4 separate regions of the Homo sapiens genome follow, and regions 2, 3 and 4 are each linked to region 1. Evidence: promoter capture Hi-C in 16 types of primary human blood cells and fetal thymus (Javierre and others, 2016). All regions are on one chromosome and are shown on one strand. Each heading gives the region's core, a stretch centred on a gene start or on the middle of the fragment in contact. The rest is flanking DNA. Distances are from core to core; before and after follow the strand shown.

Evidence for each region. Contacts are between HindIII fragments. The CHiCAGO score rates a contact against its expected background, and 5 or more counts as called.
Region 2: a fragment that was not itself captured here is called in contact with the fragment with the promoter of CEMIP in region 1 in 1 of 17 cell types (endothelial precursors); the score reaches 6.0 in endothelial precursors.
Region 3: a contact is called between a fragment that was not itself captured here and the fragment with the promoter of CEMIP in region 1, in 8 of 17 cell types (M1 macrophages, megakaryocytes, M0 macrophages and 5 more). The highest score is 14.2, in M1 macrophages.
Region 4: a contact is called between a fragment that was not itself captured here and the fragment with the promoter of CEMIP in region 1, in 1 of 17 cell types (M1 macrophages). The highest score is 5.0, in M1 macrophages.

What each region holds. Positions count from the first base shown.
Region 1 is chr15:80,775,789-80,781,834 of GRCh38, forward strand. CEMIP (cell migration inducing hyaluronidase 1) reads left to right here and starts at 3,582. Exons shown (of 30, transcript NM_001293298.2): 1 at 3,582-3,826. RefSeq lists a silencer at 3,204-3,483 and an enhancer at 4,104-4,609. The HindIII fragment of the contact is 7,653 bases long and covers 359-6,046 here.
Region 2 is chr15:80,544,060-80,550,105 of GRCh38, forward strand. All of the region lies in intron 8 of ARNT2 (aryl hydrocarbon receptor nuclear translocator 2), which reads left to right. Among named protein-coding and RNA genes, the nearest start is that of ARNT2-AS3, 16 kb to the right of the region's middle. The HindIII fragment of the contact is 379 bases long and covers 3,656-4,034 here.
Region 3 is chr15:80,567,569-80,573,614 of GRCh38, forward strand. All of the region lies in intron 12 of ARNT2 (aryl hydrocarbon receptor nuclear translocator 2), which reads left to right. Among named protein-coding and RNA genes, the nearest start is that of ARNT2-AS3, 7.6 kb to the left of the region's middle. The HindIII fragment of the contact is 178 bases long and covers 4,205-4,382 here.
Region 4 is chr15:80,595,682-80,601,727 of GRCh38, forward strand. ARNT2 (aryl hydrocarbon receptor nuclear translocator 2) reads left to right here. Exons shown (of 19, transcript NM_014862.4): 19 at 1-2,252. Among named protein-coding and RNA genes, the nearest start is that of ARNT2-AS1, 14 kb to the left of the region's middle. The HindIII fragment of the contact is 2,084 bases long and covers 2,666-4,749 here.

The sequences.
Region 1 (6,046 bases), core at 2,332-4,831:
TCCTTTTCCATCGCATGTATGTTATCTTTATAGGAAATGCTCATTCGTGTATTCATTCATTGACGGTGGACTACACGTGGACTTCATGTTGGCCACTATAGGAGCTACTACAGGGTAGATGGGTAAACTTGAGAGACACAGCCCTTGCCCTCTCAGAACATGCAATCTGATGGAAGAGAATAATTTTGAGCTAGCTATTGAAGATTTATGGAACACTTACATACATTTATCTATTTGTGAAACTATATATGTAACTTATACATGGAAAAATGCTTGGCTATATACTGAAATTAACAGAAATAATTTTTGAGTGGAAGTGATTTTTTTTTCTTTCCTTTGTGTTTTTCTGTATTTTTCAAGCTTTTGTAATGTATACACATTATGTTTGATGTTAGGTAATTTCTTTTCTCTTTGTTCATTGTTTAAGTTTTTCAAGGTTGGTTGGTTGGTTGATTTTTTTACAGGGAACATGTGTGATTTTTTGCAATTAGAACAAAAGGAAATAAATAAGAAGAAGACATCATACATACACCGTTTACCTATGTTTTAGACATAAATAAAACACAGGAAAGAAGAGTTCTTTCTCTAGAGTGACGGTGAGTTTGAAGAGGAAGATATAGAAATCCACTTTCAGAGCTGGGATTTGCTGTCATAAGTTCCAGCACAGGCCTTCACTCACCAGAAAAGCTGAGGACATGTCTCTCTTCAGCTGGGCAGCCTCTTCTGTGTCCAACAAGACAGGAATCAACAGCTCTGAGAGCTGGAAATCTGGCCTCCGGATCCAGGCCTGGGAATTTCCCTTTTCTGATGCCAGCTTCAGGCCCAGTGTCTAAGGGCGACCCCTGTTGGTGGGACTTAAGTATGCTCATTATTCGTGAGCTGCTTCTCCAAGGGTGGAGATGCCCAATTCAGTTTTAATTTTTTGTGGGTCTGCTGGAAACCTTGAGGCCCACAGCCCACTCACACACTACCCTAACTACATCCTGCTTCCCTTTTCTCCTTGTCCTCCACCCGTCTACTCCAGGTTTTCCTGGACAACTGGGTCTGGAGGCTTGGCGTATGGAGCCACAGGTGTGGCCAACCTTTTAAACTGTAATAAGGCAGGCTGCTGTAGGGTCAGGTGCTGTCTTTGCTGATCAGCAGGTGGAGTGTGGAGGCCCTTGTTTTAGGGAACAGATGTGGCATCCTGTCAGCAGACTGAGGATGCCAGACTTGGGCAGCTTGAGGCAACAGTGAGCAGGCAGGCCAATCTACTGCACAAGGATGTAGCTGAGGGGGCTGCATCCCACCTGAGGAAGGTGGGTTGGAGGCAAATGCAAAGAATGGAGGAAGGGCAGGCTTTCTGGGTGGCAGGTCACACCATTGATGGGCGTTTCCCTTCTCTCTGGAGACTCTCTGCTGGGAGATTTCGGCAAGAATCAGAAAACTAACACAGCCTTTCTTGACCAGCTCTTTCCTGTCTCTGCATTTATAAGAGCAAGACAATGGATTGCGAAAGTGTGGGCAGTAAATCCACCAGTGTCATGTTGCTATATTTATCCATAAAGAATTACGCGGCACGCCCCGTTCATCACTGAGTGCTGAATGGCAGTGCTGAATGGAGAACTGGCTGGAGAATCTGGTTTTAGACATTCGGAGCCTGTTTGTAATTCATCAGCACTGCTCTTTTCCCCTGGGCATTGGTCTGTGATAAAGAAAACTGGATACCAGAGGAATGTGCTGGGCATTTCAGTGCTTTGAGAAAACATAGCCAAGCACTTCTCAGGGCCCATCCCTAGACAGGACCCTGCCTTTACCACTTCATCTCCCAGATGGCTGTGGAGCCAGCCCCTCACCAGAGAGCTACCTGGCTCCACTCAGGCCTCAAATCTACTGTCTGTTGATGGAAAATCCTGCATGTCGTGCCAAGCCAGGCTGATTCAAGGTCGACCTTTCTCCATTTGGGCCAAATGCCCAGCACCCCCAAACCCCTAACACACAACTCTTTGTGGGTCTGGTTTCTGGGAGCTCCTTAAGGAAGAAAAACATAAACAGGAATCATGGTGAGGACTGGGGAGAGGGGCCCTGGGTCGGGGGGGCTCCATTTTATTCGGCTGGAAAGAAAAGGTTGGGGAGGAGGGCTTGCCATTGGATCCAGTTCATTACTTCCCAATAAATCAAAGAAGGGCTGAGAATCCTGACCACCACCCCCAGTAAGGATCAAGTTCCGCTTTCTGGAAGAGGCCTAGAGGTGGATTGCAGGACTTCCCAGTTTAACCAGGTGACAAAGGCTTCTGCTTCAGCCCAGATGTGATCACAGACTTCCACAGCTTCTGCCGACCACAGCCTGGCCTTAAAGTCCAGACCTAGAGTCCCGGAGCTAGTGTGTACTACACAGAATGGAGACCTTGCCTGAGGAGCTGGTTCTCAGAGAACACTGGCAGGAAGGAAGAAAGAAATGTATATTCTAGGAGGCCTCTGCTAACCAGGAAAGGGGGCTGAGTCACACTCTGAAAGGTGGAAGAGGCAGAGAGCAGGTATCAACGCCCTCATTTTACAGATTAAAACAAAACAAGAAAAACAAACACTCCTCACCTCCCTGCAAAAAAACCACCCTGAGGCTCAGACAGGGGAAGTAGCTGGCCCTGGTCACACAGTAGGTTAGCGGCAGAGTTGAGAGGAGACTCCATATGCCCTAGGGATGTGTTGTGATGAACTTTTCCTACTGGTACTGTTTCCTCCCGCGAGGGAATGTCTAGACCAGCCGCACCTTCTTGCTTTGACCCTTCAGAACTTTGGCCTGTCCAGTTAAAGAGGCACAGAGCCCTCCTACCCACAGGGAATGTTTCTAACTTACCAAGCACCTATTATGTGCTTAGAACTTGGACTTTCCTGATCTCATTTAAGCCTCACCATTCTAGTGAGGAAGCATCACAGAACCCATTTTCCTGATGAGGAAACTGAGACTGGGAGGGGTTAAGATCCTGTACACAGTTGTAACTGGCATGTCTGAATCCAGTTTCAAACCAAGGTGCCTTTCAGTGAACACCCAAGCATCTTCCTCTCGGATTAACTGCTAGGCCAATACCAAAATCTCTTTCTCGGGCTACTCTTTTGCTGCTGAGTTAAAAAGAGATCCTGAGACTTAGCCTGGGACCCCGACTCGCGGCGATTCTGTGGCAGGCGCAGACCTTTTCTCCTGTCCTCCACTGCCTCTTTGCCTCGGAGGGCGCCCCGGGGCGCGAGCGGGGCACGGGCGACCCTGGCTCCTTGGAGGCCCGGGGACTTGCTCTCCGCGGTCCGCCGCGGCCGCTCCACCGAGTCCTGGCCTCCAGCGCCCTCACCTGGCTGCTGCGGGCGGGACTCTGCGCACCCGGGCTCCGCGGGCTCAGGTCTGCGTCTCCCAGAGCCGCCGCCAGAGCCCGCCCCGGTCCGGCCCGGGCACAGGGCCCCCGCCCCACTTGGGCAAGGCGGGGGCGCGTGGAGGGAAGTTTCATCGGGGGGCGAGGGAGGGAGCTTCGGTGCCGCGCGGGCGTCAGGGGCTCCTCGGGGGAGGAGTCAGTAAAAGTGGCTATAAAAGCGGCCTCTCGGCTGAGGGCCGGGGAGCTAGCGCTCAAGCAGAGCCCAGCGCGGTGCTATCGGACAGAGCCTGGCGAGCGCAAGCGGCGCGGGGAGCCAGCGGGGCTGAGCGCGGCCAGGGTCTGAACCCAGATTTCCCAGACTAGCTACCACTCCGCTTGCCCACGCCCCGGGAGCTCGCGGCGCCTGGCGGTCAGCGACCAGACGTCCGGGGCCGCTGCGCTCCTGGCCCGCGAGGCGTGACACTGTCTCGGCTACAGACCCAGAGGTAAGAGGGCCTGGCTGGGGGCGTCAGGGATGAGCTGACGGCCCATGCCACGGAAGAGAGGTAAGAAGTGGGGGCCCGCGCCTCCACCCGGCACAGGGTAAACGTTACCCGCCTCAGTTTCTGTTTGTCTGTCCACCCTGTGCTGTGCAGTCTACCTCTATCTGTCTGTTTGTCCATGCGTCTGTTGATGGGCACACGCTCTTGGCACTGTCCTCTGTGGGATTTCTCTGAGATCTTGTGATGCTTTACAAGCTGCAGGTGCCGGGGGGCGCTGGAGTCCCCAGAGGGCATCCAGAGGGGGCAGACTCCTGCTTTCCGTAGATTTTCCCCCTTCTGAATGGCACCGGGGGCTTGCGCCCGGGAGAGTGTCTCGCCGAGGAGGGAGTACCACAAGGGTCAGGTCTCGGTGTCCTGCCGACTGGGAGCCAGCTCACGCCGAGCTCTAGCGGGCGTGCGCCTAGCAACAGGTCTGCGCCCTGCTGCTCCTGCCTCAGCACGCTCTTCCTCCCAGTTTCCCTCGCCTCCCAGTGCCTCCGGGACAGCGCTAGGCACCCAGCGACGCGCTGGCGCGGGGCCGAGCTGAGGCAATTGCAATGTTAGATGAACCCGGGGGGCTCTGCTGATGTTTAGACTGAGACTCCAAACGTGGCATCGCTGGAAGAAGGTCTGGTGGTCCCTGGCAAAGGACGTCGGCTCCAAGAAAGGTCGCGTTAGGTTGTGAGGAAAGGCAGAGAGTCCTGGCAGAACGCTGGCCAGGTCTCCAGCTCGCCGCTCTGGGAACGAAGGCCAGTGACATTCTGGAATGGACCCCAAGGGATGCGTGTGCTCATGAGAGAGGAGCGCTGTGCGCCCTGGGTCCTCAGCCGCAGACACTCTCTGCGACAGCCGCTGTTCCCCAAGGGTCGGACGCTACGGCAGTCCCAGGAGTTCCGCCAGCTGCCGGGTTTGAGGTCCTGAGTCCTTCTCCAAGCAGCCAACGCTACCCACAGGTGAGAGCTCCCTTTAAAAACTAATCTTCTGATGTGTGAGCCAGTGCCTGGCTGCAGCCCCATACCAGGGACGGTGAGCCGGGGAGCGCGTCTCTCCATCCCTGCGGTCTGGAAAGTGATCCAGGGCGCGCCCGAGGGCGGGGAGCCGGCGGCTCTGCGTGCCCAGGCGCGACGCCACCATGGACAGCTCCCAGCCACTTCCTCCACTCGGGGTCTGTGGCCCTGGGTCTCCGGGGAAGTCGTGCGCTTTCTTCCCAGACCCAAGGCGTTGGGGCGCTGGGAAAGAGGAAAGGGACTGAGAGTCCGCTGGGGCCCTCGGTATTACCACTCAGGAGGCAGCCCAGCCCTCAGGAGTCTGTGGTTTGTGACCAGGTCCTAGCTGAGCCGGCAGTTCTGCAGGACCTCCCGGGGGCACTCTGTGGTTCTCTGGCTTTTCTATGACACCACGGAGACCCCTCAGAGCTGTTAGGAAAGTATGGCCCCTGAGAATCCGACCCAGGCAGTGAGATAATGCCAGATACAATTACGCCAGACATAATTAGGGATCCAGCTCAAACTGTTTTCTGTGTAGGGCACAAGTTCATGTGTTCCATCAAATTAAATTATTTATTTAGTACATATGGGATTGGGAGGATATATTAGTTTTACGATTAATGATAGAATGGAGAAGAAATCAAATAGAGCAAATTTATAGAGAAGGCAATCGGATGCATTTGCAAAAGCAACTATGCGGTTTTCTGATCCTAATAGTTTTGTTCAAAGCCCATGACTTTCTTAAAGCAATTTCCAAAGGCTCCTTTTTAGCCCAGTAGATGACTTTTCAAGTTGGTCACTTGAAACAGGGTGGAAAAACCTGTAGGGTTTAATCTGTGCACCAAATTAAAGATCTCCCTTCTCTGGTAAGAAACGACACTGGATGGGGCTCTTTTTGTCATTTCCACCCATACTGAAGTGTGTATCTTCCTTTATTTTAAAATTACAAGAAACGCAGGTCTGCTTTTTTTGTGTGTGACTGACAAAGGCCGACGGAGAGTAAAAACAAGTAAACACCTCTTATAAAAAAAAATTTTGAGACAGCATCTGTGACTTTGGGAAAGTTGCTCAAATGTTTTGTGCCTGTTTGCTGATATGTAAACTGGGAATAACGCAATGCCATCTTGCAGGGTTGCTATGAGAATTACAGTAATTGGTACAATGTAAAGCATTTAATCCAGTGCTGAGCATAGAGAAA
Region 2 (6,046 bases), core at 2,595-5,094, 230 kb before region 1:
AATGTCAGACATTGTAGCTTTCATCTCCAGAAGTTTGCTTTGGGTCCTTTTGCTTCTTCCACAGCTCTACTTAACTGTTAGTATGCAGTTATAATAACTGTGTTAATGTGTTTGTTTGCTAATTCTAAAATCTGTGTCAGTTCTGCGTCATGTTTTGGCAGCTTGGTCTGTTTTCCTTCATTATGGGTTGTATTTTCCAGCTTTGTTTCATGCCTGGTAATTTTTTATTTGATGCTAGACATTGTGAAATTTAAGTTGCTGGCTTGAAAACTCTCTTAAGGCTGTGAGCTAGGGGCAGTCACCAGGCTTGTCGTATTTGTTACCCATTTCTCAGGGATTGCTCTTGTTCATTGCCTGATATCTAGTGTCTTCTAAACCATCATTTCTTGCATTTGTTTTGTTTTTTTCTTTGTTTGTGTGTGTTTGTTTCTGACAAGAAGGTAAATCTGATCTGTTATTTCATCTTGGCTGGAAGCATAACTCCATTGTGATTTAAAAAGCAACGACTAAATAAAAGTTGCTCTGGTTATGGGGAACTGTCAGCATAACTCACACCTTGCTTCCTGAATGCACTTCATTTATTATCAGTAAGCCAGGCTTACAGACCAGAGGATGTGAAAGGCCTCTGTAATGATCACACCTAAAGTACTGTGGGCACATTTTAGGGAAATAGAGGCAATCAGAAACATATTCAGAAATGTGACAAGAATATAGAGAGGCAAACTATTTTTGTAGGAAGAACAGTTTAAATGATGGAAGGATGTTTGTCCCAGAACGGAAAAGACTCAGAAACTCAGTCATATTCTTCACTTGTCTAAAGGGCTACACAGCAGAAGAATGTATGACTCTAAGGGCAAGTCCAGGACCAGCAGGCGAAATCTTCAAGGAGATAGATAGACTGAGTTGTCTGGGGCTATAGTGACCACCCCACCACTGGAGGAGTTCAAGCAGCAATAGATGGACATGGGATTGAAGTCTCATGAGGGTGTTGGGCTCAGTGTCTTCTAAGGACACCTCCTACCCTGAAACTCCATTGCCATGTGGAATCCTATCTTCCTTCATCTCAGACCTTGGGGCAGTAACCCTTGTCCATCTACTGAGCAGGAGAACACCTTCTTCCTTATTGCTTTGGGGCTCCTACTGTAAGTTATTTCTGTGCTTTCAGAGCTAGCTCTTTAGTCAGCTGAGTGTGCTGCTGCCCAGCCCAACTCATCATTCTAGAATCACCTGGTCCTCTTGAAAGAGGGCAGGGCTCTTTAAATTCCTGAGGGGCAAGAAACTGGACATCCTTAAAGGCACATGTGTGCTGTTCATGTGAGTCCTGACTGGTATTTGGTGTTTGGAGGAACTGTAGGTACATGGTAAATGTCATGAAAAGCCATGTGTGCTGGAATGAAGACTTTTGATTTGTGTTTATTCCCTGCAGAGGAATGGTGTGGCCAACTTCTAGGAGTGATATAGACGACAGGGTAGAGAGGAGATGATTGGAGAGCTAACTGAAGTCGAAGCAGACAGGTTTGGTGTCCATTGATATGCAACTGGTGAGAGGAAGGAATAGTGCAGGATGATGCTAAGATTTCTAACCTGAGATATGCAGTCACTAATACATAACAGAAGACAACTCTAGATGTCATTAGCAAAAAGAGAATTCTTAGATAAATGTTAATGAGTCCCATCATTCAAAGGGGGCCAGCTTTGGAAAATGAACAGAAACCTAGGCAGCTTCCATGGGTTAAAGAAGCATGAAGCCCAGGGAATATCTGTTAGTAGCAGCAGCCTGCTCAGGACACTGTGCTTTGTTCTGCTGATGAATTTGAACCATCCCTTCACCCCGGAAGGATACAGGGAGGTAAAATCTAGCTTCTTTGACTTCCAGAGTGGAAGCTAGTATACCGTCTTCCACCATGATCACTCATAAAGGAGGATTTCTTTCAAGTAAGACGTAGGTTTGGCTGCTGGTCAGTCTAATTAAGTGACAGATGTTACTGCTGGTAGTGCTGCTTCTAATAGAGATTAGAATGTATACCAGTAAGTGATTGAGTTTTGCTGCGTATAACAGAAAATCCCAAATATCAGGGCCTTAAATAAATCTATTTTATATCCAAAGGTAGACAATCTAGAGTTAGTACAATGATTCTGTGATGTAAGCAAGGACTCCTTCTCTCAGCTTTCACTCCACAATCGTTATTGTGTGACCCTGGCTTTCCTGCCTTTCGAGATGGCTGCTAGCACTCCCCGGTCATATCTATGTTTCATATGGAAAGGAGTGTTCCCAAAAGCCATGCTCATGACTTCTGCATCCATCTGATAGGCCAGAGCCATGTCAGTTGAACACCTCTAACTCTAATGGAGCAGGCACATTGCCGCTCTGAATAAATCAAGGTTCCTTAGCATGGAAGGAGAGAATGTAAATGATGTATGTCACTAGTGGTCTTTTCCATGGAGAGCAGAAAGAGGAGGATGTTTTGGTAGAGAGATTTGGGCACGATTTTGAAAGACCTGTGAGACTGAGGTAGACATTTTCAGTAGGTAAGTGAAGGCAAGATCTGGAACTGCAAAGGAACATCTCGACTAGAGACATAGTCTTGGGTCTCATAAATGTATGGTTAGAAATAGAGGCAATGGCTGGGCGCGGTGGCTCATGCCTATAATCCCAGCACCTTGGGAGGCTGAGGCAGGTGGATCATGAGGCCAGGAGTTCAAGACCAGCCTGGCCAAGATGGTGAAACCCCGTCTCTACTAAAAATACAAAAATTAGCCATGTGCGGTGGCAGGCGCCTGTAATCCCAGCTACTCAGGAGGCTGAGGCAGGAGAATCGCTTGAACTCGGGAGGTGGAAGTTGCAGTGAGCCGAGATCACGCCATTGCACTCCAGCCTGGGCGACAGAGTGAAACTCCATCTCAAAAAAAAAAACCAAACAAAACAAAACAATAAACGGAAAGAAAGAAATAGAGGCAATGGAAAAATGATATAAAAAGAGACAAGATGAGGTATAAAACTCTGGGGAATGGCAATGCATAGAGCAGCAACAGTTATCAAGGTGTGGTCCATGGACCCTGGGAGTCCCTGAAACGTCTTCAAGGGCACACAAAGTTAAAACTATTCTCATAATAACACTGAGATGTTATTTGCTGCTTTCTGTGTGTCAACATTTGCGCTGATGGCGTAAAAAGCATTGGTGGGTAAACTTGCTGGGCCTTAGCGTGAATCAAAGCAGTGATACCAAGCTGTCCTGGTGGTCATTGTATTCTTTATCACTACACACTTGCAATTAAAAAATAATTTAAAAATGTTTAAATGCCGGCTTCACTTAAGAATGTCCCTGAAGAGGCAGTAAAAATTATGAGTTGTATTAAGCCCCGGATGGAAAACTTGCATAAAGCAACTTCTGCAGCATACCAAAGCACAGGGATTGTGTCAGGGGAAAGCATGTATGCTTCCTTTGGGCTGTGAGCTGAACTAGGTGTTTTTTCCATGGAACATAGTTTTTGCTTGAAAGAATGACTAACAAACAAATGGTGGTTATTATAACTTATGTATTTAGCAGATATTTTCTCAAAAAAAATTGAACTTGTCACTTCAAGGAAAACAATTGACAGTATTTGTTGTCAGTGGTAAAATTCAGATTTTCTAATAAAAATTTGAGTTTTGGAAAGCTTGTATCTGTCACCATAATTTTGACCAGTATCTAGAGATGTTTCTGATGAGATACATGGTGGTATTAACAAGTGCAGTTTTTTTTAATGTTGTATAATGCAATGTGTCAACATTTAGAAGGTCTGTATAATACGGTGAACTAGTATTTTCCAAATGACCAATACATAGTATGTAAAATTATGTGATGGGTAAAAGATCTATCTAAAGTGTTAGACAAACTAGCCTATTTTAATATTGTATTGAATATTACAATATGACAGTATGAAAAATTCATTCATATAGTTTTGGATTTTATATTACAATTAGCCTTTAAGAAACTAACACTTGTCAAGATTTGGAAAAATACCAAAGGAGAATATACTCAGTATTCTGAAAAAGCTTCCCCTTTTTCTCTCTTTTCCATATCTGTGTGAGGCCATATTTTCTTCATATGCCTCAACTAAAACAACATATTGTAGCAGATTGAGTGCAGAGCAGATATTAGAATCCAGCTGTCCATTATTAACCAAGGCATTAAAGAGATTTGCAAAAATGCTAAACAATAATTGAGGGATAATTACTTAATATGATAAATGTGTGTGCGTGCATGTTATATCTTAGTCCAAAAGGTGATATTTAATGGAGAAAGCCCTGAGACATTTCCACTAAGATCAGAAACAAGGCAATAATGCCCACTATCTCTACTACTATTCACAATTATAATAGACATATTATCCCATACAACTAAACAAGAGAAATTAGAGGCAAAAGAATGCACAAAGAAAAAGGAAAACTGTCTCTGTTTTCAGATTATATAATATTACACCTGGAAAAGCCTAGTGAATCAGTGATAAAACGGAAACAAATAATTCAGGTTAATATATGAAAATCAATAGCCTTCATATACATAAACAATAAACAGAGGCTATAATGGTAGAGAAAGCCACATTTACAATAGTAAAAACAGGATTAAATACTTAGGAATAATTTTAATGAGTACACAAAGTACAAGTATATATGAGGAAAATTTGAAAACAGTCCTGAAAGACACAAAAGTAGGTTTAAACAAATGAGAAAACATCCTTTGTTCTTGGGAGGATAACTCAACATTGTAACTTCAGGAGATGTCAGTTCTCCTGAAGTTAATTTACAAATTCAATGCAATCCTAATAAAAATATTATCAAGCTATTTTATGGAGTCAGATAAGTTGGTACTATCAAAGTTCCTGTGGAAAAACATACCTTCAAGAATAGCCAAGAAAAAATACAACGAATAGTCCTACCAGACATTAAAACATACAATAAAGCCTCTATAATTAAAATAGTATGGTACTAGTGCCTGAATAGACAATTGGGCAGTGCAATAGAAGAGACAGTCCAAAATTAGACCCAAACATGTATGGAAATTATATGATAAAGTTGGCATCTCAAATCACTGCAATTTAAGAAAATGTTGATGGGGCAACTGGATAGCTATTTAGAGAAAGATAAAATTAGATTAATATCCCAAAACTCCCAAAAGAATAACTCTGAATGGATTAGGGATCTAAATGTGAAAAATAAAACCATAAAAGTATCAGAGGAAAACAAGAGTGAATTTTTCCTTAAGCTTTGTGTAAGAAATAGCTTTCTAACTATGACTCAGACTCCAGAGGTAAAAAAAGGTTGATAAATCTTACCACATAAAATTTTTGAAATTTTTAAATCACCACAAAGTCAAAAGACAGGGGACCATCTGGAAGAACATATTCATAACATATACCGCAAGGATTTAATATCCCAAATACAGGGAACTCTTAAAAATGGACAGGCAAAAGATCCAAATAGAAAAATGGGAAAGAGACAGAAGCAGACAATTCACTAAAAAACAAGATATAAAAAATGATCCTCAAACATAAAAAGTAATGTTCAAACTCACTCATAATTAGAGAAATGCAAATTAGGACAACACTAAGAAATCACTTCTCACCTGTCAGACTGACAAACATTAAATAATGTGACAGCACATTCTGTTGGCCAAGACTCTGGGGAAGCAGACCTCCTATACATTCCTGGTGGGAATGCAAATTGGTGCAACCCTTCTGGAGGAAAGTTTGGCAAAACAAAACTACATATGCACTTACCTTTTGACCCAGCAATCCCACTTCTAGGGATCCACTCCGAAAACGCACTTCTGATGATAATAAAACACATATGCACAAGGTTATTCATTGCAGCATTGTTTCTCATTGCAAAATATTGGAAACACCTAAACGTCCAGTATTTAGTGGTTGAATAAATCATGGCACATCAATAAGATGAAGCAGTGTGCAGTTATAAAAAAGAATTGAGGAAGAGCTGTATGAATGAATATGGAGTGAATTCCAGGACATAGTGTTCAGTGAAGTAAGCAAAGCCCAAGAGTGTCTA
Region 3 (6,046 bases), core at 3,044-5,543, 210 kb before region 1:
TTTGCAAGAAAAGTAAAGATCCCCCTGTGAAAACCAGCCCCCTGGCTGAGGTTTTGCTTTATTTTTCTGAAAGTCAGGCAGCACTGAGAAAACAGAAAAGCCATCTTGTACAGGGGGTGGCCTACGTAGTTCCTCCAGACAACTGCTTTTGCAGCTTGTGAGGTTACACGGATCAGGATGCCCCCTCAGGGCACAGTTACACCAGAAGCCTCAATCTGTGTCTCTGAACTGAAAGGTCCTACACTGGTGAAGTTGGTTGGAAAAGTCTACTGTGGACGGTAGAGGGCAGTGACAATCAGGGATGTGAACTGGCCAGCTCTTTTTTGAATTTGTGAGGCGAAACTTTGCCAGCAGTAGGCAGACTTGTTATGGAAAGATCCTTAAATGCTCTGTGCTGAGGGGAGGGGATGGCGAGGGTGGAGTGTGGGCAATTTGCAAGCTCGGTTGCTTTCAGTCAAAAGCATCCAAAAGAAACTTCCTGGAGAAACTGAGTGTTTAATGTTGAACATTTGTGTAAAGCCACTACAAAGAAGACCTCTTTATCATCCTTGCTTTTTTTCCTGTTCCATCAAATATGGAATGAGGTCCAGAAAAACACAGACTGATTTAACGTGCTGGTCACACAGCACAACTTTGAAACGTGCCTTGGCACTGGGGGGCCAAGACTCATTTGGGGCTGTTTGTTAGCTTGAGTCATTTCAGCGTTTTTACATGGGCACGACCTAGCTGCTGTGCTTTCTTCATTTCTGACATCTTTTTAGGGGAGTGATCTGAAGTTATCTCTTTGTGTCTGTTCAGGCCAAGTCCTATTTCCTGTCACAGCATTGTTCCAACGTTGTCATAACCACACCTGTTGGTCGTGCTCGTGTATGTGTGTGTGTGTGCATGTGTTTTTAAAACCCCAGAATGCCCAGAATCATGACGGAGTCTCTCTCGAGCTGACTCACCATCACGTCTCCTTCGTCATGCTTAGCAGTGGCCACCTGGTTGGTCCTAGGCAGGCAGTGGAGCATAGGGGTGGGTACAAATGAAGTCAAAGGAAGGCTGCTTTCCTGGTCTCTGCAGAGCGTAGAGGCAGTAAGGGGCTGAAACAGCCAGTCACCAAGCCCCAGATCTGGGAGCTATCCTGGATCCCTCCCTCTCATTCACCTCAACAGGCAACCTGGCACAGAACCAGAGCCCCACAGGTTCTACCTGCGATTCTCTCTAGCGCATCTCCTCCTCTGCCTCTTTGGCCTTGCCTCAGTTGAGGCCTTTGCCGTCTCACAAGTGATCATCGGTCTTCCTGACCATCTCCCCTGCCTTCCATCAGGCCCCTGCTGAGCCAGTCCACGTGGCCCAGGAAGTGAGCTCTAACACACACACACGCGCACACACACGCGCGTGCACACACATGCTTGACTGGACCGTGCTGCTCCCTGCCCTGATCGAATCAATTCCAAACCCTGTAACAAGTATTTCGAGTCCTTCACAATAGGCATGCAGATGGTGCTCAGTCAGGGTGGATATTATTAGCCTCCATCCCCAGACGCCTCCCAGTGTGCTTCCAGTTACTCCCAGGGACATGATTCCAGCTACCTCAGAATGCCCGCTTCATGGCTTCTTGCTCACTTACTCAGGCTGAGTAAAAACCCCTGTCCAGGGAGCATCAGGGAAAATTGACAGCATCTGCCCGGACTCCTGCACCTCGCCGGCAGGAAGCCGCACTTGATGCATTCACTTTCTACTCCTCAGCCGTTGTAGCCCAGCTAATGGAGGGCAGCACTGGCTGTGGTAGGAACCCACTTCCCTCGCATGTGCTGTCAGTCAGTTTTCTCCTGAGCAGCCCTGCTTTCTCCTTCTCTGGAATTTGCAAGCACACCGAGGTTTATTTTTATACCATTGCCGTGAAATGTCTGAGAAAACTCCCCAGGGCTCTTCTCAGGATGGGGCAGCCTGCAGGTCAGCACTTTCTCTTCCACACATGCTCAGCTATGGAAGCAGAAACCCAAAGGTTGTGGGATGGAGATGCTGATGTTCCGACCACAGAGCCAGAGCAGTTAGGGTCCTGGGGATTTGCCAGCCATACCTGCGACCTAATTTTTCTGCTTCCCAGTGAAAGGAGCTTTTTCTGGTCTAGGAGCCCAAAGAGGAACAGAACTGAAAGCAAACCCCCGGCCTAATACCAAGAACCCTTATCACAGCCTTTATCCACATTAGAAACATGGGCCTTCCCCAAACACAGACCTGCACCAAGGTGTGTGAGTGGAGAGGGCCAGGTTTGTGCCCCACTTCGCCCCTTGGCCAGGCATCCGGGGCACAGCTACACAACTGCGCACAGTGGTCCCTGTCCTGTCTCTGAGATTCTGGGCCTGGGCCAGAGAATGGTTCATGGATTGCTGCCATCATGGGGAGTTCACTGCTTCAACCCCACAAAAGTCCCAAGGAACAGATTTTTCTCTTTCCTGTGGCTCAAGATGCCCAAGGTACTAGAATGGGAGACATGGAATAATTGTCCTTGTTATAGCCATGGGTATTTCTCTTGGGCTGGGGCAGCAGCCTAGGCCAGAGTAAAAAGACCGCAAGGCCAACAGCCAGACAGACTTGGGTTTGAGTCATATGTGTTCCATATTCTTGCCATGTCACCCGGATGTACCCTTTACACATCAATTACATTCTAGCCATGTCGCCCTGGATGCATCATTTACATTCTAACTGTTACTCTGGACCCATAGTTCACACCCTGGACACTTACATCTACACTTTCCTCATATGTCTCAGTTGCTTTATCTCTAAAATGAGGATACTGCAGAGATGTGAAAATATTGACAAAGTGCTGGCCATCAGTCCTACATTAAGTGGAAGGTGACGGTGCCCCCAAGGTGTGAATCAAAGCAAAACATAACAAAAGCCATAAAGTAAGAATAAGAGAGTAGAGAAAGTAATGCTTTTTTTTTCTATTGATTATACTGATTCATTTTTCAATTTCTGAAATATCAATTTGTTTGGAAAATTATTTCTAGTGCTCCCACTTTGCTGGTCTAACAAGTGTGGGCTGAGACTGCCTGGTGGGAGATCACATGCTTTTGGTTTTATCCTTTTCCTTTTATCTGGGCTCCCACACCGACATTAGGAGGCAGACTGTACCCTTGGATAGAACCTTGTTCTTCCTGAGGCGTCATCTTAACTCACCACACTGTAATTGCTTGCCCACGCCTGTCTTTCCCTGGAGACTGTCAGTTCCATGAGGGCAGGGATCTTGTGGGTTCTGAGCAATCAGTCTGTCCCCGGTGCCTGGCAAAAGAGTTCCGTACAGTTCACTGAATGAATGACTCTTCTGGGCTGAATTCGAAACAGAATGTTCTCAGGGTCCTCCAACTGGGGTTCCCTTCAAGGAGGCCTTCCCTTATGGTGGGGACACACACACACCAGGGCCATCAGCACAGACGGCATGGCCAGAGGAGGAAATGGCGTTCAGATCATACATATTTTATAATGCCGAGTAAAAGAGTTTAGAAACAGAATCCAACTTATTTTGTGTTTCTCCAGGGGCAGAAGTTGTTCCCCAGATGAAAGTTATAGGGAGGTACATTTCAGCTCCTTAGGGGTCAGGCTTTTTATAAGTATTTCTGTCTGCAAATGGATCAGGCTGCCCCAAAACGTAGTGAGCTCTCTAGCAGAGAAAGTCAAGCAGAGACTGACCAGTTGCCTGTCAAAAGAAATGATGTACTGGGGGTTGCTGTTATCAGAGGAGCTGTGGACCAGATCACTTGTGTGCATTTGCTTCTTAGGAGCTGAGGAGAGTTGGTAAATAGCAATGCATCTTTTGTGTAATCCAAACAGCCTACACTTGGAATGAGAAAATCTAGTCTTGCTCAGTCTTCACCACTTACCAGCCTGGTGATTGTGTTTCTACCACACACAGTTGGTGCACCCTCTGCCTTGCCTGTTTGCCTGGGAGGAAGATTGAAGTTAACCATTGTGGAAAGGGCCAAATGGGATCCCTTGATCTCTGTCCTGGTTAAGTTTGGCCAGTGGAGGGACTGGCTGGAAACAAAGGAACAAGAGTGGAAGAGTAAAAGGTATTAGGCAGCCTTGCTCACCACGGCTCTCACAGGTCTGATAGCTGCTCACTCCCCCTGTCCCTTTGGCCCTAGGGATGGTCATGGCTTCCTGTTGTTGCTAGCCTAGGGGCTCTTCACCATCCTAGTATAACAACTATGAAAGCTTTTCCTTTCCCAAATGGGGCAGACAGCAAAGCACCTTGAAATCAGAAGTATCAGGTCAGTCCTTGGCTCTGTTCTGTGATAGCCACTTGCCAGTTGGCCAACTTTGACAACCACTTAACCTCTTTGAACTTCAGTTTCTTAACTTTAATATGGGGGTGAAGTAACCACTCTGAAAGCTTAGTGTGAGGATTGGATGAGATAATGTAAACACCTGTCCATTTATGGCCACACCTGTTAAGTAGCCCCTTCCCTAAACCTTCTTTAATCATCCCTTTTGAGGGTGCCATCTATTTTCTGCAAACCTCTAGCATCTCTGGGCCTCAGTTTCCTCATGCGGAAAGGGAATTAAAAAAAAAAACAAACCTATTTCCAAGGTGACTGTGAGCCTAAGGTGAGTTAGGATGAATGCAGGCACCTAGCAGGGGGCCAGGGCAAATGCACAGGGGCGGGTGCAGGTGTTACCTCTGCCTTCCTTCCACGGTGGCCACACACCACCTTCTCCTGGATGGGGGCCTCCAGATTCTCACCAAGCCTGTGCTTTTGCTGATAGTTACAATTTTGTTACAGTTTTTGTTACAGTTTGTTTACAGTTTTGTTACAGTGTTCCAGCCATGCATTCCTGGTGGTTCCTCCCCAGGAAGCTGGTCTACCTTCCACACCTGCTCCTCCCCACCAGCCACTTCCTCATCCTAGATAACAAAGGCTTCCTCTCCCACCCTCCCCTCTCTTCCTACCCACAGAATATCTAGCCAGCCCTCCTTGCATCCCAGACCCAGATGAGGGGAGGTGGCCTGTGGGCAGTTCCTCCATGGGGTTCCCCACCACCCAGTCCAGGACACAGCCATGGGTGAAAAAAGTGGGACCACGAACGTGTCAGAGGAGACCCACTGTGATCCTTCTTGTTTCAAAATAGACAGTGGACGTAAACAAAGGAAATCCATAACCTTCCTAATTAATGCAGACACTTGAGAGATTGTTTTTCTTGGTGTTAAATTTTGCTCACCCACATAGTTTGTGGCCATAATTGCAGCGTGCATAATATATTGTGCTGCACTTGAACTTTTCCACACCTTTCATCATACCTTCCTGTGTTTCCAGACGATCTTCACAGTGGTTGCTGTCAGTGCTGTGGAATAGTCACTCAGGAAATTAATATTCAGGATTTACAAAGTCACTCCTGATTACAGCCAACTTTGCATGGGTAGCTCTTACTTCCTTCCACTGAATAATTTCCTTACTACAGCTCAGCAGCAGGATGACCACCTGGGAGCGTGTGAGCAAGTCCACAGTCCCTCATCTGGGTCACCATAGTTTTCCGAAAAGGTCGTGCCATGCACACTTCCCCAACACCGTGTGACCATGGTAGTTTCAATGCAAAGCCACCATGTGAAACATATTTTTACCAACTTAGCAGTTGAAAAATTATACTTCAAAGGTGTTTTAATTTACATTTATTTTGATTATTTTAATGGCAAAATGTTTCCCTGACTTGTTTATTGTATCTATTATATATACGTTATTATAGGTACATACAGTACATGTATATTTGTCCTTTTATTTATTTATTTATTTTGCTTGAATTGTCTGTTCATATGCTTTAAATTGATTGCTGGGCTGGGAGTAATGTCTGTTAGTAATTTGAATTGCATAGTACCACTAATAATTTTTTGCCTGTCCTTCTTAATGATATTTACAATTGAAGAGGATCCTGTCATTTGCCCCATTTTTAGGCTCTGAGCTATAGAGTTCACTTTCCCTTGAAAACAATCCAGTAAAGCCGCCATTTCCTCCAGCAAGTCTTTTTCTTCCCCAAATGGAGCAGGCAGCAAAGCCCCTTG
Region 4 (6,046 bases), core at 2,458-4,957, 180 kb before region 1:
GGGTCTCCACTGTAGATGCATGCAGTGTTCACTCCAACCTCAGAGGCTTTCTTGCTTCTGGGGAAATGGCAGGTGGTTGAAACCCTGCACATCCTCCCAGGGCCAGCCCCAGAATGGGCCTTTCTCTGCCTGCCCTGCCCTTGGGGCCACCTCTGCCTCCAGCAGGCTTGAGCTTGCCCCAGGCCTTGGGCATAATTATTTCCCCCCAAAAAAGGCACAAAAATAGGTTTTGGATCAAAGAAGTGTTTCTCAGTGAAATGAAAACAGTCTTTTTATAGCCTTTAGCTTGTGAGTTTGGAAGTTTGGGGGGTCTTATGTTTGTTTTGCCTCTTCTGTTTCTTGGAGGAGAGTTGAGGCTTTTCTTAGGTGCATACACAGACCCAGGTGAACACGCTGACTGTGAACCTGCCCTGTATCCGGAGCTGTGCTGGGCACTGAGGGGATGCAACAAAATTAGGAGAGGATCCTTGCTCCCAACGTCTACTTCTCCTACCTCAACAGGGGTCCAGGGTGCAGTGAACTCAGTTCTTGGCCCTTGGGTGAGGATTCATGGATGAATGAAAGCTAGACCTGATGGGGAGGCATTATGACTAAATAGGCCCAGCCTCCTTCCCTTCCAGCTCTGTCCTAGGAGCATAGGCGGGAAATCTGAGTAGAGTCTGACTGCAGTTTTTGCTTATGATTTGTAAAAGCCGTCATGGGGTCAATAAGAAAATAGGGGTGATGGAGGGGGAGAAGCCCAGGACTGGGAGAATCGCACATGCCCCAGGGGTTTTCACCAAGGATTTTCAAGACAAACTGGAGTAAGAATTAAAGCCCCAGAGGATTTAATTATCCTGGTTTGCAAAAGAGCCTCCCATGCCAGTACCGCCCAGCCTTGGAGGCCGGAATGCTCATGGCCCCTGTGGTCTGCTTGTCCTTCAGCCCATGCCCAGCAGATACCTCTCTGACTGGAGACGGGCTCAAAGCTGGATTAGAAAGGGGAGAGGCACTTGTGACTTTGTTTGACTCTGTGACTCACTTCCTCGCTCACACCTTGTTTGAACTACTGGACTTTCAACTGGCTTTCCTTAGGTCAGGCAAGCAGACAGCTCCCCACTGAAGAGGTCTGTACAGTGACAACCCGGGCCGGCAGCAAGGACACAGATGCAGCCACAGTAAGGCTCCATCAGGACTGGGTCAGTGATGGCAACAGGATGGCCAAGGATGGCTCTAGAACACTCTGTCCATGCGTCACTCCCCCCAGTTTTATTTTTAGCTTTGGCTTCAGGGAGTGACAGCCATCACAAATAGCCACATTCTGCTCTACTCTCCAACATACCAGATTCTACACTGTTGTTATTTCATGAGACGTGAATGTTGCAGAGAGTGGGGGGATTCTGGTTGTTAAGGAACTTACACTGGGGAGCTTTACTCTTCCGTGTCAACAATGTGACTACATGTTCTCCAGATTAGCCACACATGCAAACATCAGTGTCCTTCTAGCTTTAGCCGAGAAAGAAACCAGTCCCAGGGAATGAATGGTGGTCTCCCCACTCCCGGCAGCACTTTAGGCAGCCCATAAGCTATGCGAGAATGTGAACGCTCACCTTGCTCCGTCACGGTTCTGACCTACCACATAAACAGGAAGAAGCCAGTGACCGGAACAGCTCTAGGAATAACAAGTCAGAATAGAAGTGTCCTTTATATTACCAGAAAATATGGGCTTGGCCTAAGTCGCTGTCTCCTAACCTGCCGGGGTCATTCCCCACCAAACACCCCATACTAAGGAGCCATGAGCCACCTGGACATTCACCTTTTCTTTGACCATCTGGAGTCTGGGGCAACTTAAGGAGGCACCACACAGTGGTGCAGGCACATTTCCAAGCGTAGGTGTCCCTGGCTTTTGTGGCCAAAGCTAGTGTTATGGTCAACAACAGGCCAGGGTCTGTGGGGCACTGACCTTGAAAGTGGCAAAATGGAGGTTTCACAGGCTGTGCGGGAGCAGGACGGCTTGCTTCATCTAACAATCTCAGTTTCCTTTAAAAAAAGAAAGAAAGGAAAAGATTTCATAAGCAGGTGTCAGTGGACAGTTTAAGTACTTAACCATTTCTCTTTCTTCTTATGGATGTGAACTGTGCTGTGGATAAATCATTTGTATTTCTTGAATGTTCTCTATGACTAACAGTTATTAAGTCGGTTGTGTATATGTGTAACTAATGTAACTGCCTTTTAAAATTTCATTACAATAAAAATGACTTTGCTCTGAACAACAAATGGCCCAGGCCAAGTTTGTAATTGAACCATCCTTGAAACCTGCCCTTTGCATTACACTCCCTCCTATGGGCTGTATTGTGTCATAATCTGTAAAGGATGTGGCGTACATTATACTAAAGAGTGACCCTTTTGGAGGTTTAGCTTCTTAGGATAGAAAAGGAAACTAGGGCTGGGCACAGTGGCTCAGGCCTGTAATCCCAGCACTTTGGGAGGCTGAGGTGGGAAGATCACTGGAGCCCAGGGGTTTGAGAACAGCTTGAGCAACAAAGCAAGACCCTGTCTCAAAACAAAACAAACAAAGGAAGCTAGCATATCAGTCATATTGCATTAGAACCAACAGAAAATAAATAAACAAATAATAAAAGGAAACACAATTCTTGACCGTCTGTGTTAGGCAAGGCTCTCTAGAAGCTTCCTTACAAATGCTATTTTTGTTAATACAAATCTGATATGTGGTTACTCTCCCTGGTTTACAGATGGAGAAACTGGAACTCAGAGAAGTTAAGAAAATACAGGAAGGAAATGGCAGAACCAGGATATTGAACTCAGGTCTCAGTCCAAAACCCTGTATATATTGTCCTATTCAAACATTCTTCTTATTATTTTTTAATCCTTACAAAATTGTTAGTGTTTTAATATGCTGATGCCTCTAGTAAATACAATTGACTCTTGAACAACATGGGTTTGAACTGTGTAGGTCCACTTACACGTGGATTTTCTTCCATCCACCTCTGCCAGCCCTGAGACAGGAAGACCTCCTCTTCCTCCTCCTCCTCAGCCTACTCAACGTGAAGATGACAAGGATGGAGACCTTTGTGAAGAGCCACTTCCACTTAATGAATAGTAAATATACTGTCTCTTCCTTATGATTTTCTTAACATTTTCTTTTCTCTAGCTTACTTAACTGTAAGAATACAGTATATAACACATCTAAAATATGTGTTAATTAACTGTTTTATGTTATCTATATTCTGGTCAACGGTAGATTATTAGTTGTTAAGTTTTAGGGGAGTCAAAATTTATACATGGACTTTCAACTGCATGAAGAGTAGGCGTCCCTAACCCCCATGATGTTCAAGGGTCAACTGTACTTACAAATTCTATTGTTCCTCTGCCAAAAGAGAACTTTTTGGATTCTAGCAAAATGGCAGACTAAAATTGTTTTAAAACTCTTCCATCAAACACCTAGCATTGCTAGTTTTTACAGCTTTATTGATCTATTATTGACATAAAGTAGACTGCACGTATTTAAAGTATACATAAAATTCTGTGACCCTGAGTTAAATATAGACTTCTTAGATACTACACCAAAAGCATGATCCATCAAAGAATAAATTGACAAATTAGACTACATAAATATTAAAGGCATTTGCTTTTCAAAAGACACTGCTAAGAGCATGAAAAGATAAGCCACTGATGGGAGAAAACATTCACAAGTCATGTATCTGACAAAGGACTAGTACCTAGAATATGTGAAGAACTCTTACAATGGAATAAAACAAATGACTCAGTACAAAACAGGCAAAAAATCTGAACAGGCACGTCACCACAGAAAATATACAGATGGCAAATAAGCATGTGGAAAAAACTGATTACCATCATTAGTCATCAAGGAAATGGAAAATAAAATATACAGTGACTCTAATATTTGGCTAAAATGTAAAAAGACTGATGATAGCAAGTGTTGCCCAGGATATGGAGCAACTAGAACCCTCATAAAGGCAAAATGGTACAGCCACTTTGAGTAACAGTTTCTTAGGAAGTTAATCATCCACTCATCTTATGACCTAGCTTTTTCATACCTAGCTATTTGCCCAGGAGAAATAAAAACATATTTCCAAACAAAGACTTGAATAGGAATATTCATTGCAGTTTCATATGTAATAGCCATGAGGGAAAAACAACCTAAATGTCCATCAGTAGGTGAGTGGATAAACAAATTGTGGTACCACCACACAGTGGAATACTACCCAGCAATAAAAAGGAACAAAGCACAGATACAATCAACAGCATAAACAGAGCTCGAAAACATTATGCAGAGCAAAAAATGCCAGGCACAAACATACACAATGATTGCACTTATATGAAACTCTAGATAAGACTTATCCAATCAGAAAGCAGATCGTTGGTTGCTGGCCGGAGGAGTAAGTGGGAGGAGGCACAAGGGAAGTTTGTGAGATGATGAAAAGGTTCTATATCTTTCTTGTGTGATGGTCACAAAGGTGTATACAAATCACAAAACTCATCAAACCCTTCATTTAAGATGGGTACATTAAATTCTGTTGTGCATAGGTTGTCTCTAAATAAAGTTGATGTAAAAATAATCACAGCAGTTTCTTGTGGAATTTGTCAAGTTGATTTCAAATTTCCTATGGAAGAAAAAATGATAGGCAGTAAATTTTGTTGAATAAGATCTAAAAAAGAAAAGAAAGAGGGAGAAAGAGGAAGAAAAGGAGAAAAAAGAGCCAGCCTTTATCCCACCGGACAGTGGGAAGCTTTATCATTAGAAGTGTGGGGTTGGGCCAGGCATGGTGGCTCACACCTCTAATCCCAGCACTTTGGGAAGCTGAGAGGTAAGGATCCCTTGAGCCCAGGAGTTCAAAACCAACATCATGGTGAGGCCCCATCCCTACAAAAAAGAGATGAATGGCTTGAGCCCAGGAGTTCGAGGCTACAGTGAGCTATGATCACACCACTGCACTCCTGACTGAGTGACAGAGTGAGACCCCCTTTCTCTAAAAAAAAAAAAAAAGTGTAAGGTTAGCATGGAGATGGAAAAGTAGATCACAGAACACAACAAAGAACCTAGAAATCCACAGACATTCAGAAAGAAGCTTGGAAGAGTCAGCATTACAAATCACAGGGACCAGCTAGACTTCCAATAGATGGTGCTCGAGGAAAGAATGTAGGAAAAGAAATCTTCATACTCTCATCTCACACCCTATAGAAAAAATAAACTCTACACAGATGAAAACATCGCAAGGCTAAAGGCAATATATGTAAAACATTTAGAAAAAATCTAGGAGAATATATTTTAAAAATCAAGTCTTGGAAGGATTTCTTAAACCCGGCACAAAGACAACAAACAATGAAGTAAAATATTGATAAAGTTTAACTCAATTTAAAAAATCAGCCTCAAAAAATGTAACAGTCCATTAACTGGTAGAAAATATTTGCAATTTGTATACCCAAAAATGTAGTATTCAGAATAAATGAAAGATTCCTAAAAGTCAATTTAAAAAAATAGAACTCAATAGAAAAATGGTCAAAGAATTTGAGTTGTGAGTTCATAGAAAATCAGATGGCATTAAATCTATTAGAAGACGCTGAACTTCATTGTAATTAAGGGAAAGGCAAAATTAAAACAAAATAAATGCTTATGTCGCTCAGATTTACTACGTCTGATAACATGATTGTTACTGAGGATATGGGGAGACAGGAATTCTATTTCCTAGCTAGTGGAAAATAGCATACTTGCTCTGAAAAAGATGACATTTATCAGTACCATTTTTCCAACAGCATATTGGAATGTCAAAGATGTACAAACCCATGACAGTGATTCTAATTCCAACTGTCTGTTCTACAAAACGTCTCACATATACACAAGAAGACAGATAAAAAGATATTTATTGCTCTGTGTGTAAGAGTGAAAAAGTGGAAGAAAATAATCTATCCTTTAGTAGAGAAATGAATAAATTGTGATTTAGGTACACAAAGGAATATATCGCAGCACTTAAATACCTTGTTGCAGATGCAAAAATTCTAAAAATATAACATTGAATTTAACTGC